2 separate regions of the Homo sapiens genome follow, and region 1 is linked to region 2. Evidence: promoter capture Hi-C in 16 types of primary human blood cells and fetal thymus (Javierre and others, 2016). All regions are on one chromosome and are shown on one strand. Each heading gives the region's core, a stretch centred on a gene start or on the middle of the fragment in contact. The rest is flanking DNA. Distances are from core to core; before and after follow the strand shown. Region 1 overlaps DCHS1 (dachsous cadherin-related 1). Region 2 holds the start of MRPL17 (mitochondrial ribosomal protein L17).

Evidence for each region. Contacts are between HindIII fragments. The CHiCAGO score rates a contact against its expected background, and 5 or more counts as called.
Region 1: a fragment that was not itself captured here is called in contact with the fragment with the promoter of MRPL17 in region 2 in 2 of 17 cell types (non-activated CD4 T cells and activated CD4 T cells); the score reaches 5.5 in non-activated CD4 T cells.

Annotation. Positions count from the first base shown.
Region 1 is chr11:6,625,184-6,629,057 of GRCh38, forward strand. DCHS1 (dachsous cadherin-related 1) reads right to left here. Exons shown (of 21, transcript NM_003737.4): 13 at 3,438-3,647; 14 at 1,606-2,484; 15 at 1,369-1,482; 16 at 986-1,197; 17 at 737-891; 18 at 414-544; 19 at 15-298. Among named protein-coding and RNA genes, the nearest start is that of TPP1, 7.7 kb to the left of the region's middle. RefSeq lists an enhancer at 2,648-2,737. The HindIII fragment of the contact is 6,198 bases long and covers 1-3,874 here.
Region 2 is chr11:6,682,090-6,689,029 of GRCh38, forward strand. It overlaps MRPL17 (mitochondrial ribosomal protein L17), which reads right to left and starts at 1,251. Exons shown (of 3, transcript NM_022061.4): 1 at 1,034-1,251; 2 at 658-726; 3 at 1-313. The coding sequence starts at 1,207. The coding sequence ends at 29. It also overlaps the pseudogene RPL21P94. RefSeq lists enhancers at 793-1,555, 972-1,411. The HindIII fragment of the contact is 17,410 bases long and covers 1-6,423 here.

The sequences.
Region 1 (3,874 bases), core at 1-2,500, 57 kb before region 2:
ATGGGTGTCAATACCTGGTAGAGGCTCTGTGAGAAGGCAGGTGCATTGTCATTGACATCCTCCACAAGCACTGTGAGGTTGGCACGGCCCTCATGAGGCCCATCATGTGCCAGCAGCTGCAGCTGGTAGCGGTCACACTGCTCAAAGTCCAGGGGCCCCGTGAGGGAGACACGGCCTCCATAGCGGCCAACACTGAAGGGATCCTGGGGCCCAGATGGGCTTAGCACATACCACAGCACGGGTCCTGAGTCCACATCATTCCCTGTTACCTGTGCAATCTCTGAGCCCAATAACGCATCTGGAATACATGAGACTAGTGTGTTTGGCAATGGACACAGCCCCACCTTGAGCTGCAGGGTGGAGAAAAATGTCTCTCTGCCACCCTTTATGCCACCCACTTTACCCAGCCTCACCTTCTGACACTCGGAGCTCCCAGGGTTGGGGGATGGTGGGGCGATTGTCATTGGTGTCGATGACCATCACCGTCAAGGTAGCTGAGCCCACCAGGGCTGGGCTCCCTCTGTCTGTGGCCATCAGCACCAACCTGGACACAAAGCACAATCATCGGGTGGGACATGGCAATAAGGGGGAACTCTGGGCAGGGCCAGGAGGACTCAGGACAGAGCTTAGGGCTGGGGAATTCAGGATGTGGCCAAGGGACCAGATGAGTTCAAGGCAGGGCTTGAAACTGGACAGGCCCAAGATGGGGTCTTGGGTCCACAGGGCCAGGCCTCACCGTGTTTCAGCCCAGATCTCACGGTCCAGGATGGCTGTGGTAGTGATAGTGCCTGTGGTTGGGTCTACGTGGAACAATCCACGTGCCGGCTGGGATGCAGCCAGACTGTAGGAAATCTGTCCTCCAGAGCCTTGATCCAGGTCATCCGCCTCCACCTGGTGAGGGTAGGAGGCTGCTGGGACTGGTCTGGCCACAGACAAGTCTGACTAGCCCTGCTCCCCCGCCCAATCTTTCCATCACACCCCGCACCTGCAGCAGGGGCCCCTCCAAGGGCCGGGACTCAGGAAGGAAGGCCACATAATGGGGCCGCAGGAAACGGGGAGCATTGTCGTTGGCATCTTGCAGGGTCAGGGTCAGCACAGTGAAGGCAAAGGCTCCTCCACTCTCTGCCTGCAGCACCAGTCGCAGCCGTGGACTCACCTCGAAGTCTAGCCCCTCTGCTGAGCGAACTGTGATGGCACCTGGGCGAGATAGAATGCATCAGTGATAGCCCCCTTTGCTTGCCCTGGAGCCTCCTTCTCTAAGACCCCTTACTCAAGGACAGCCCTTCACCCATCAAAGGCTCCTCTGATGCAAAGAACCTGCTTCCCCAGTAGCCTGTCCTGCACAGAGCCCCTGCTCCTATTTCTTACCTGTACTAGGCTGGATGGAGAATGTCCCTTTCTCATTCCCACTGAGAATGCTGTAGGTGATGGGTCCATTTGTGCCTCCTGCATGGACGGCCCTGGGGGAGACAATAGGAGTCCCTGCAGAAAGAACGGTATTGTTGGACTGTGAGCGCGAGACTGGGAGAGTTTGGGGGACATTTTCAAAGCACAACCCCAGCCCATTTGGGAGTCTGAATCTGGAAGAAATGGCTGGGGACCCACCTGGGGGCGCATTCTCACGAATCGTAGCCTCACTGCTAGCCCGGGGAAAGCGGGGTCCACGCTCAGCTTCCCCCTGCAGTCCAACAATGATCACACCAGTGGCAGAGCGAGCTGGACGGCCAAGATCAGTGGCCACAATGAAGAGGACACGATCTCGGGGGCCTAGAGCTACAGGAGAGCGGGCCACGCGGATTTCACCAGTGTAAGAGTCCACAGTAGTGCCAGGAGGTGGTGTGCCTGCCAGCCGGTACAGAATGGAAGCATTGGCACCAGCATCACGATCTTCAGCTCTCAGTGTGGCCAGAGCCAGGGTTGGGGTACTGAAGCTGGGGCCTGGGCGGGGCAGACGTAGGCGCAGAGGACTGGTGGGGAAGGTGGGTGCATGGTCATTGACATCGCGCACCGTGATGGTGACAGACACTGTGGTGCTTAGGGGCCCAGCAGCTGCACCATCCACTGCACTCACAGAAAAGGTGTAGCTGGGACACTGTTCTCTGTCCAAGGCTGCAGCTGTGCGCAGTTCTCCAGAGCTGGGCTCCAGCAGGAAGGCTCCTGCTGTACCGGCGCCCAGGTAGTAGGTCACATGGCCATTAGCTCCAGCATCAGGGTCATGAGCCTGTAGCTGCAGCAGCAGGGTCCCTGCAGGCACATCCTCCGGCACCTCCACCGAGTAGGCAGGCACAGGAAAGGCTGGAGCATGGTCATTGGCATCCAGCACTGTCACTGTCAAAAGCAGCGTGGCACTGAGAGCTGGCTGGCCTCCATCCCGGGCCTCTATCCTCAGCTGGAAAGCTGGCTCCACTTCTCTGTCTAGTGGCCGCATGGTGCCAAACTCTCCAGAAGCAAGGTCTAGGACAAAGGCTCCTGATGGGTCCCCATCTGCAGAGAAGGGCATGCACATATAAATATACATGTGTCGTGGGGATGGGGGTGATTTACAGACAACAGGAGAGAGTGAGCATGTGCACAAAAGCAAGTGAACCTTATGAGAGAAAGGAAGAAAAACAGAAACAGAAAGTAAAAGAAGATACTATAAAGCAGCTGGTATCATTTGTGTGTGGTCTGGGAACCCCGGGAGTCCCCCAAGTCCTTTTCATGTGCATAAGATCAAAATTATTTCATAGCACTACTAAGCCATTATATGGCCTTTTTATTCTCATCTCACAGATGTACAGTAGAATTTACAGATGCTCTATGACGTGATGATATAATGTCTTGGTTAAGGGAATGTGTGCTTATGTATTCCTGTGTGTTCTAGAATATTCTAGACAGAAAGTTTAGAGCATGAATCTGTGTGTCTTCAGAGATTCAGTTTGTTCTGGCTATCTTCAATTATACCTGCTTTAATCTCTGAAATTAACTACTTTCCAACAAATTGTTACTTGAAATCTTAGTATTTCCTTGTGCTTACACAGAAATACTGGCAAGCTGTATACTTCATTGGCTTGTTTCACAATCATATTTTAACATCATCTCAGTTTTATTATCTAATACAGTAAATACTGATATAATCCACATAAAAACTCCTTAGGGTTCTCAAAAATTAAGAGTGTTAAGGGTTTTTGAGACCAAAAATTTGAGAACGACTGCTCTACAGGGAGAGACAAATGAGAAAGAAAAGAAATAGGAAGATAGAAACAGAGACACACAGGGAGATAAAGAGCATGGAATGAGATACCTAGCTACACTGGGTATAAGCATGAAAGAAAAGGTGGACGACATCAAGAGGGAAAAGGAGACCCAGACACATGCACTGAGGCTGACAGCAGCCAAGAAGGAGCAAGAACCAGGCAAGTGGGTGCTGAATTAAGTGGGAGTGGGAAGGTTCTCACCTAGGATGCGGTACTGCAACTGCCCATTGGCTCCCACATCTGGATCAGAGGCCCGAAGCATGGTAAGGGTCTGGGGGTCCTGGCCCTCAGGCACCTCCAGAGAGAGATGGGCACTCCCAAAGGTTGGTGCATGGTCATTCTCATCCTCCACAGCCACTCGAACAGTGACATGCGTTAACTGAGGAGGTGAGCCCCTGTCCTGGGCATACACTGTGGGGAAGCAAAATCAATGAGGTCTAGTCTGCCCTCACCACATGGAGAAATCCACACCACACAGTGTTCATACATGTTCACTAGGTGCACACAAACCAGAAAATGTCCATCTCTCCATACCTCTCAGGCACACATGTGTCATGCATACATAAACATACATGTGTCCTACCTCCCATGCTTGGTGCATGCAAGATATATCTTGGACTAGTGGTGGTGTAACAGGA
Region 2 (6,940 bases), core at 1-2,500:
TTAAGGGCTGCAGACTCTTCAGATCCAGTTAAATCCCTGGTGTTTGAGCTGTGTGGGAGCTGTGGTTGCTTGCTTCCTGGCTTTGCCTGAGGTCCTGCCGCAAACCCTGCAGCAGCTGGTTTAGGAGTGTAAGGTGGCTGTCTCTGCGAGGCAGAGGCAGGGGTGGGAGGCAATTCCCTTTATACTCGATCACTGCCATCTTGGCCCGATCCAAACTCCGATTTGGGATCTGCAGCATTCTTGTGTAGCCCCCAGTTTGATCTTTGTACCGAGGGGCCAGTACTTGAAACAGCTTTGGGATCAAATCCTTCTCCTAGAGGGAGAATTATCCAAGAGACAGCAGAGTCAGGCAAAACTGCAGAGGCATTTAACTTTACACCATTCCCAAAGGTAAGGTCCATCCACACATAGAAAGACCTCCCCCTCCCCTCGCCAATCTGGCATAGTCAGTGTTACACAAAGGGGTCGTTTATAGGCAGTTGTGCAGAGGTATATTCACATCGACTTCAACTAACTTAAGACACAGTTTCTAATTTAGTTAGCAGCACTGGCCCATAAGTGAGTACCCAAGTTTAATTCTGCATAGTTCTCCTTTTTCCAACCCCCACCCCCAGGGAGCAAAGGGTGGGATTTTGAAGGCAGATAGGTCGCACTCACTGTGAGCCAGAAGTCAGCCATGCGCATGGCTCGTTCGTTAGTGTCTCCCAGCTTCCCATAGTCGATGAGCTGTGAGGACATAACATCACGGATCCAACCGAGCAAGAAAACAAGGTGCCAATCTAATTTCTCTAATGCCGGAAGGCAATCCATTCTTTCCACTAGCCAAGCATCTCCAATCTACGCCACCCCTAACTCCGCAGCCCTAACCAGTCTTCCATTAGAGGCGATGGAGGGGCGGGTTCAGCCCAAGGTTCTGGGGGACTCAGACTTGGGGAATGGTTTACCAGGTTGGTCCCGGTCCCTTTCCACTTGCAGCCGGCTCCGCCCCCTCAGACCAGACCCGCAGAGTGGACAAGAGGGCCGCGCTCCTCACCTTCTCCGCGTAGCCCCTCATTTCGTCCACACGCGCCCATGGTGCCTCGATGCGTTCGTGCCGCACCAGCCCTGTGAGCAAGTTCCGCAACAGATGGATGCGGGACTCGGGACCGAGGCCCATACGGCGAAATACGCGGCCATGGGAGATCGCTGCAGCGACCGACAGCCGCATGTTTCCAACTTCTGCCCGCCCCTTGGAGGCCGGAACTGGAAACTGGAAGGTAGAGCCGGTGGCGGCAATTTCAGGGAACGCATGCGCCTTAGCTCGGAGCGTGGTGAACGTGTTTGCGCATGCGCATCAGAGCCTGCCTCGTTGGCAATCTCGGGAAGGGCGGAGAAACGGTGTTGAGCTTTTCCAGAGGCGGCGAGCTGGGCGGGCTTCAGGCATCCAGAGCGCTCTGTGGCGGCCGAAGAACCAGGCGCCCCCTAGTGTGGGATAAGCGGGCCATCGGGTTTTTTTTGGGGCTGCGTCAGCCAGTGGCATTTAGGGCGATGGGGCGCTCCGCCGCGGAGACTCCTGGGAAAGAGAGCGTCTGAAGAGAAAGGCACCCGGAGGGTTCGGGGTCCTGCGGGCTGACGGCCCTACCGGGTCCAGCAGTGGCCAGCTGGCCTGGTTGACACCTGTACGCATTGTTTTTAACACAGTGATTTTCAGTAGTAATGGTGAGATGGATAATAACGATGCCCGGAAAAGAAACGCAGATAGTGAAATTTTTCTTTTATTGAAGTAATCACTCCAGTTAAAAAAATTACAGCACTAAAGGGAAAAGTAGTAGATTGTTTTTAATTACACCAGTGTGTCTTTTTAAGGGGAAAAAACATACCTACACATTTATGTGTTAATGAACAATAATATTATAGTTTGTTTTTGAGCCTTAACATCTGCAAATTGGCAATGACTGTCAAAATTATTCCTTGTTATGGGTTGAATTGTGTCTTCCCCATGATTCTTCCCGTCCCCAAAAAGCTATGTTAAGTCCTAACCTGCAGTAACTCAGAATGTGACCTTATGTGGAAATAGGGTCATTGCAGATGTCATTTGTTAAGATGAAGTCATGCAGGCATAGGTGGGCGCCTAATCCAAAATGCCTAGTGTCTAGCTAGCTAGATAGATAGACACATATATACGTACATACATATATGCAGGCCGGGCACGGTGGCTCACTCCTGTAATTCCAGCACTTTGGGAGGCCGAGGCGGGCGGATCACCTGAGGTCAGGAATTCGAGACCAGCCTGGCCAACATGGCGAAACCCCGTCTCTACTAAAAACACAAAAATTAGCCGGGCGTGGTGGCTCATGCCTGTAATTCTAGCTACTCGGGAGGCTGAGGCAGGAGAATAGCTTGAACCCGGGAGGTGGAGGTTGCAGTGAGCTGAGATCGGGCACTGCACTCTAGACTGGGCGACAGAGTGAGGCTCTATCTCAAAAAAAAAAAAAAAAAAAATGCGCATGAAGAGAGAGAGATGGACACAGGGTGATGCTGACCAGGTAAAGACAGAGACATACAGGCAGAAAGCCATGTGACCTTGAAAGCAGAGATTATGGAGTCAAGCAGTTGCAAATCAATGAATGAACACCAAGGATTGCTGGAGCACACCTGAAGCCAAGGGAAAGGTATAAAACGCATTCTTTTTCAGATCTGTCAGAGAGCATGACCCTGCTGCTAACACATCGCTTTCTTACTTCTAGCCTCCAGAGCCACAAAACAATAAATTTCTGTTGTTTTAAGTTCCACAGTTTGTGATAGTTTGTTACAGCAGTCTTAGGAAATGAATTCACTCCTCTTTACATGTACATATTCAGTAGACGTATAGATTTGTCACTTTGTCAGCTTATAGGTGACCAAAGAACACTTCTTTGCTAATTTTAATTTTGAAAAGTTTCTTTAATATGAAGGAACAAATATGCAAATAGGAAAAGTCATGAACATATAAATACATTGACAGATTTATACAAATCACACTTCACAATTAAAGAAATTTACAATAAATTACAGAAATTACAATTACCATTCATGTTTTGTTTCTTTGGGAGCAATTCTTGTAGTTTTCAATTGTCTTTGCAGTTGAAAAATTTCACTAAGATGTTTTCACCAGGATATATATATATTTTTTTGAGACGGAGTTTCTTTCTTGTTGCCCAGGCTGGAGTGCAATGGTGCGGTCTCGGCTCACTGCAACCTCCACCTCCTGGGTTCAAGCGATTCTCATGCCTCAGCCTCACAAGTAACTGGGATTACAGGCGCCCACCACCATGCCTGGCTAATTTTTTTTGTATTTTTAGTAGAGACGGGGTTTCACCATGTTGGCCGGGCTGGTCTCGAACTCCTGACCTCAGGTGATCTGCCCGCCTCAGCCTCCCAAAGTGCTGGGATTACAGGTGTGAGCCACTGTGCCCGGCCCACCAGAAAATTTATCATAAATTTCTATTGGTAAAAACTTGTGAAGAGGTTCTTCTTCAGCAAAAATTAGGTGAAATGAAACATTGATCCATTGTCTTAGAAAATGCTTACACTTGGTAAAAACAATTGTAGCATCAAACACTGTCCTTTTGACTTTTTCTGGCAATACAAGACCGTCATCTCTTGTCTCTTCTGGTAGTCTTCAAAATTTGATTCTTTTTTATATGTCAATTTCCTTACATTTTGTTTTTGCAGCATTACTACTGGCTTTCTCTGCAATTTCTGTGGGCTGATATTAACGGAACAATTTTTTTTTACAGTCCAAGGGTCTTTTATTAGTGGTATTATTTGCACCTATTATGTCATGAATTCATAGGGAATAGGTTCCAGTAGCTCTGGCTCCTCTCCATTGGTTCTCACCAAGTGTGCTTCTCTTGGTGCAGCAGGCTGGCCTGTCAGCTGAATCCAGGTACCTTTCTCTTTGGCTCTCTTCTTTTTCTGATCATTTTCTTTCATGCATTTCAGGAGACTACCTTTTCCCTTAGAGTGTTTAATGTGCTCCATATGCACATTAATTCTTTTGGCAAGAATCTAGCCCTTAACTTTTTTTTTTTTTTTTCCCTACAGCAATGCTAACAGCATGCTGAGTAACATTATAGACTCTTCCAGTTTTTGCCATGGTAACACTTGTGAGGCATTCCTTTTTGAACCATACCCATTCCCTTGATGTCTACAGTATCACCTTTTTTATAGACTCCCATGCATGTGGCCAACTCCATGTTTTCTAAAAGGCCTAGAAAACATACACTGGGTGCCTCTCCTGTTTTCCTTGTGTTGGCCATTTTGGTGAATTACCAGAATATGGAGCTTCCAGCCAAAAGGAAGTTAAAGCAACAATTTAAACCTTGATGTTTTACTGACTGTATGTTGTTCAAGGCTTATTGTGGCTCTTTGCAGATATTTTTGTGTTTGATTAGCCTTCTTTGAAACTTTACATTAATAAAAAAATACTCATAAAAGAAAAGTCCCAGAAAACCAAGGTTGTTTGTTTTAAATCTACTGTTTAAAAGCAGGGATATTTTGTACAACAGGAGTTGGAGTCATGAAATGTACCTGAAGTGAGCCTGAGAGCTAATTAAACTCTTATGAATTTATATCTATAAATATAAATAAAACTCTGGTCTCCTGCACAGCTGGCTCTGTGTGAGTTACTCTTTCTCTATCGCAATTTCCCTGTCTTGTTAAATCGGCTCTGTCTAGGCAGTGGGCAAGGTGAACTCATTGGGTGGTTACAAATCTGGGGGCTTGTCCAGGATTGCCCATGTGGCTACCTGCCCATGGTTTGGTAGTCCCCCTCTGGTGATGGATTCAGATGCCAGCTCAAGCAGCTGCCTAGTTATTTTGGACTGGGGGCTGACTCTGGTATTGTCTCTGCTGAAGGGGCACTGGTGACCCAGTGTGCATGGATTTAATTGCAATAGAGAAATAGTCTTGAGGAGATGTCCTATAACTGTAGCCCTATCACAAGGTGTCTGTCTGTAGCCCAGTCATGGAGTGTCTGTAGCTGTAGCCTCATTACAGTGTGTCTGGATTGGTGAATATCCTAGGCACGGCCAACGCCTCCTTCCTTTTCCCGATTGGTTTGATTCCTTTGGGGAGGGGGTCTTGGTTTTTCTGTTGCCCCATGGTGGGGTGTCGGTCTGTAGCCCCACTGAGGGGCATCTTTCTCAGTTTGGTTCATTTGAGATTCTCGGTTGGCTCTCTCTAATTAGTAGGAAGAGTCTTGGTTTGGGAGACTTCTCAATCAGGAAGATTTTGGGGAGATTTCTCAGACAGAGAACAGGAGGATAGTTTGGAAGGGATACTCTTGGAGTTCTTGGTTAGGGATCTGATTTGGAAGCCCTTCTGTCTGTCTTGTCTTTGTATGTGTTTATATATGTGGAGGGGACCTCAGAAGGACTTGCTGATGAAAGTCCAGCAGGCCTAACTCAGAGAACCCTCCTTATTTGTCTGGTCACATTCGGTGAGTCCCAAAGAAAGCTCAACAGGCCTGGCTCAGGACGACTATCTGCTCTTCGTCTTGCCCAGAGACCACCCATCAAATTACTGGTTGGAGGTCATTCCTCCCCACCTGGAGTGGATCAAAGACAATGGGGACCAATGGGAGAAAGTTTGAGCCTTGCCAGGTCAATACTGGGTGGTGAATGAGATGACTAGTGTCTGTTTTGTTATGTATATTTTGCTTTTACAGGGATGGAAAATGTTAGTTTGTTTCCCCATGCAGCCTCTTGGGCAGCATCTTGCAAAATTGAGAATCTTTTGCTTATGGTTCCATAAGAGAGAAAAGGGTGATTTTCTTTTGTAAAGTGGCTTGACCTCCACAGCTATGGCACAACTAGCAGGGTCATCAAAAGCTGCTCTGTTCTTCCAGAAGCTGCAGAGAAAGGGAACCTGGAAACCTGGTATGCTGGCAAAAAGGGTAAGAAATTCTTACCAGCTGGGTTTCTGTACCTCCCCATCTGTGTGTGTGTGTGTGTGCACGTGTGTGTGTGTGTGTGCACGTGTGTGTGTGTGTGTGTATAAATGGTAAACATCACTATTTGCCTTCTCTGCAAGGGTTTGATTAATAGAAAAAAGGATTTGCGAGACTAGTCAGGCTGTAGCAAATCTGGTTGACTTTGTGCTAAGAATTTGTCTTTCTGTAATGGAGAGAGGGGTATCACAGGATAGAACGTGGGCTTAGGACCCCAGTAAGCCTGCTTTTCAAGCCAGCCTAGCAGACTGGTCAGTAACAAACTTTGTTGAGGGTCCCTGAAACCAATACCGGATGAAATTTCTCTGTCTTGTTTAGTGTCCTTAAGAGCTTAACCTTGTGACCATGTGAGGATATTGTCTCTTGGTTTCTGCCATCCAGAGGACAGGAATTTTGGGGTTCATGTCATAGTTAGCCCTAAAAATTATCTTGAGGAGTTAAGAGCCTTTGCAAGCTTGAAATTGGCTGCTCTAGACTTCTTCTGGGAAGAGCAATAGAAACTGCTCAATGCTGTGTAGCTCAGTAGCTGAAGCTTTTTTTTTTGACAGTGGTGGCCTGGGTTCAATTCTTGGCTTCTGGAAAGTTTCCTTTCTGGTTTGTTATTTATGTAATTTTGCTATTTATTGAGGGTTTTTCCCCCATGGATAGCTTCTGATTTCCTGTCTTGGATTTTCCTTTCTCTAAACTACCCTTGGTAAACTACCCTTGGGGAGATTGTAAATCTTGCCAAAAAAAAAAAAAAAAAAAAAAAAAAGAGAAACTGCTTATCATCTCTTTGAGACACCTTATATGTCCATGGTTAAGTTATAACCTTAGCTAAAACTTATTAATTTCATGTAGAAAGTTACCTGTGGTAGAAATCAAAAGCCAGAAATATCGGCTGTCCTGGCTAGAGTCTGGTAATAAGAAATTTTAAAGGATTTATTTATTTTTTTAAAAAAGATCTCTATGGTTAAAATCAGCTTAATT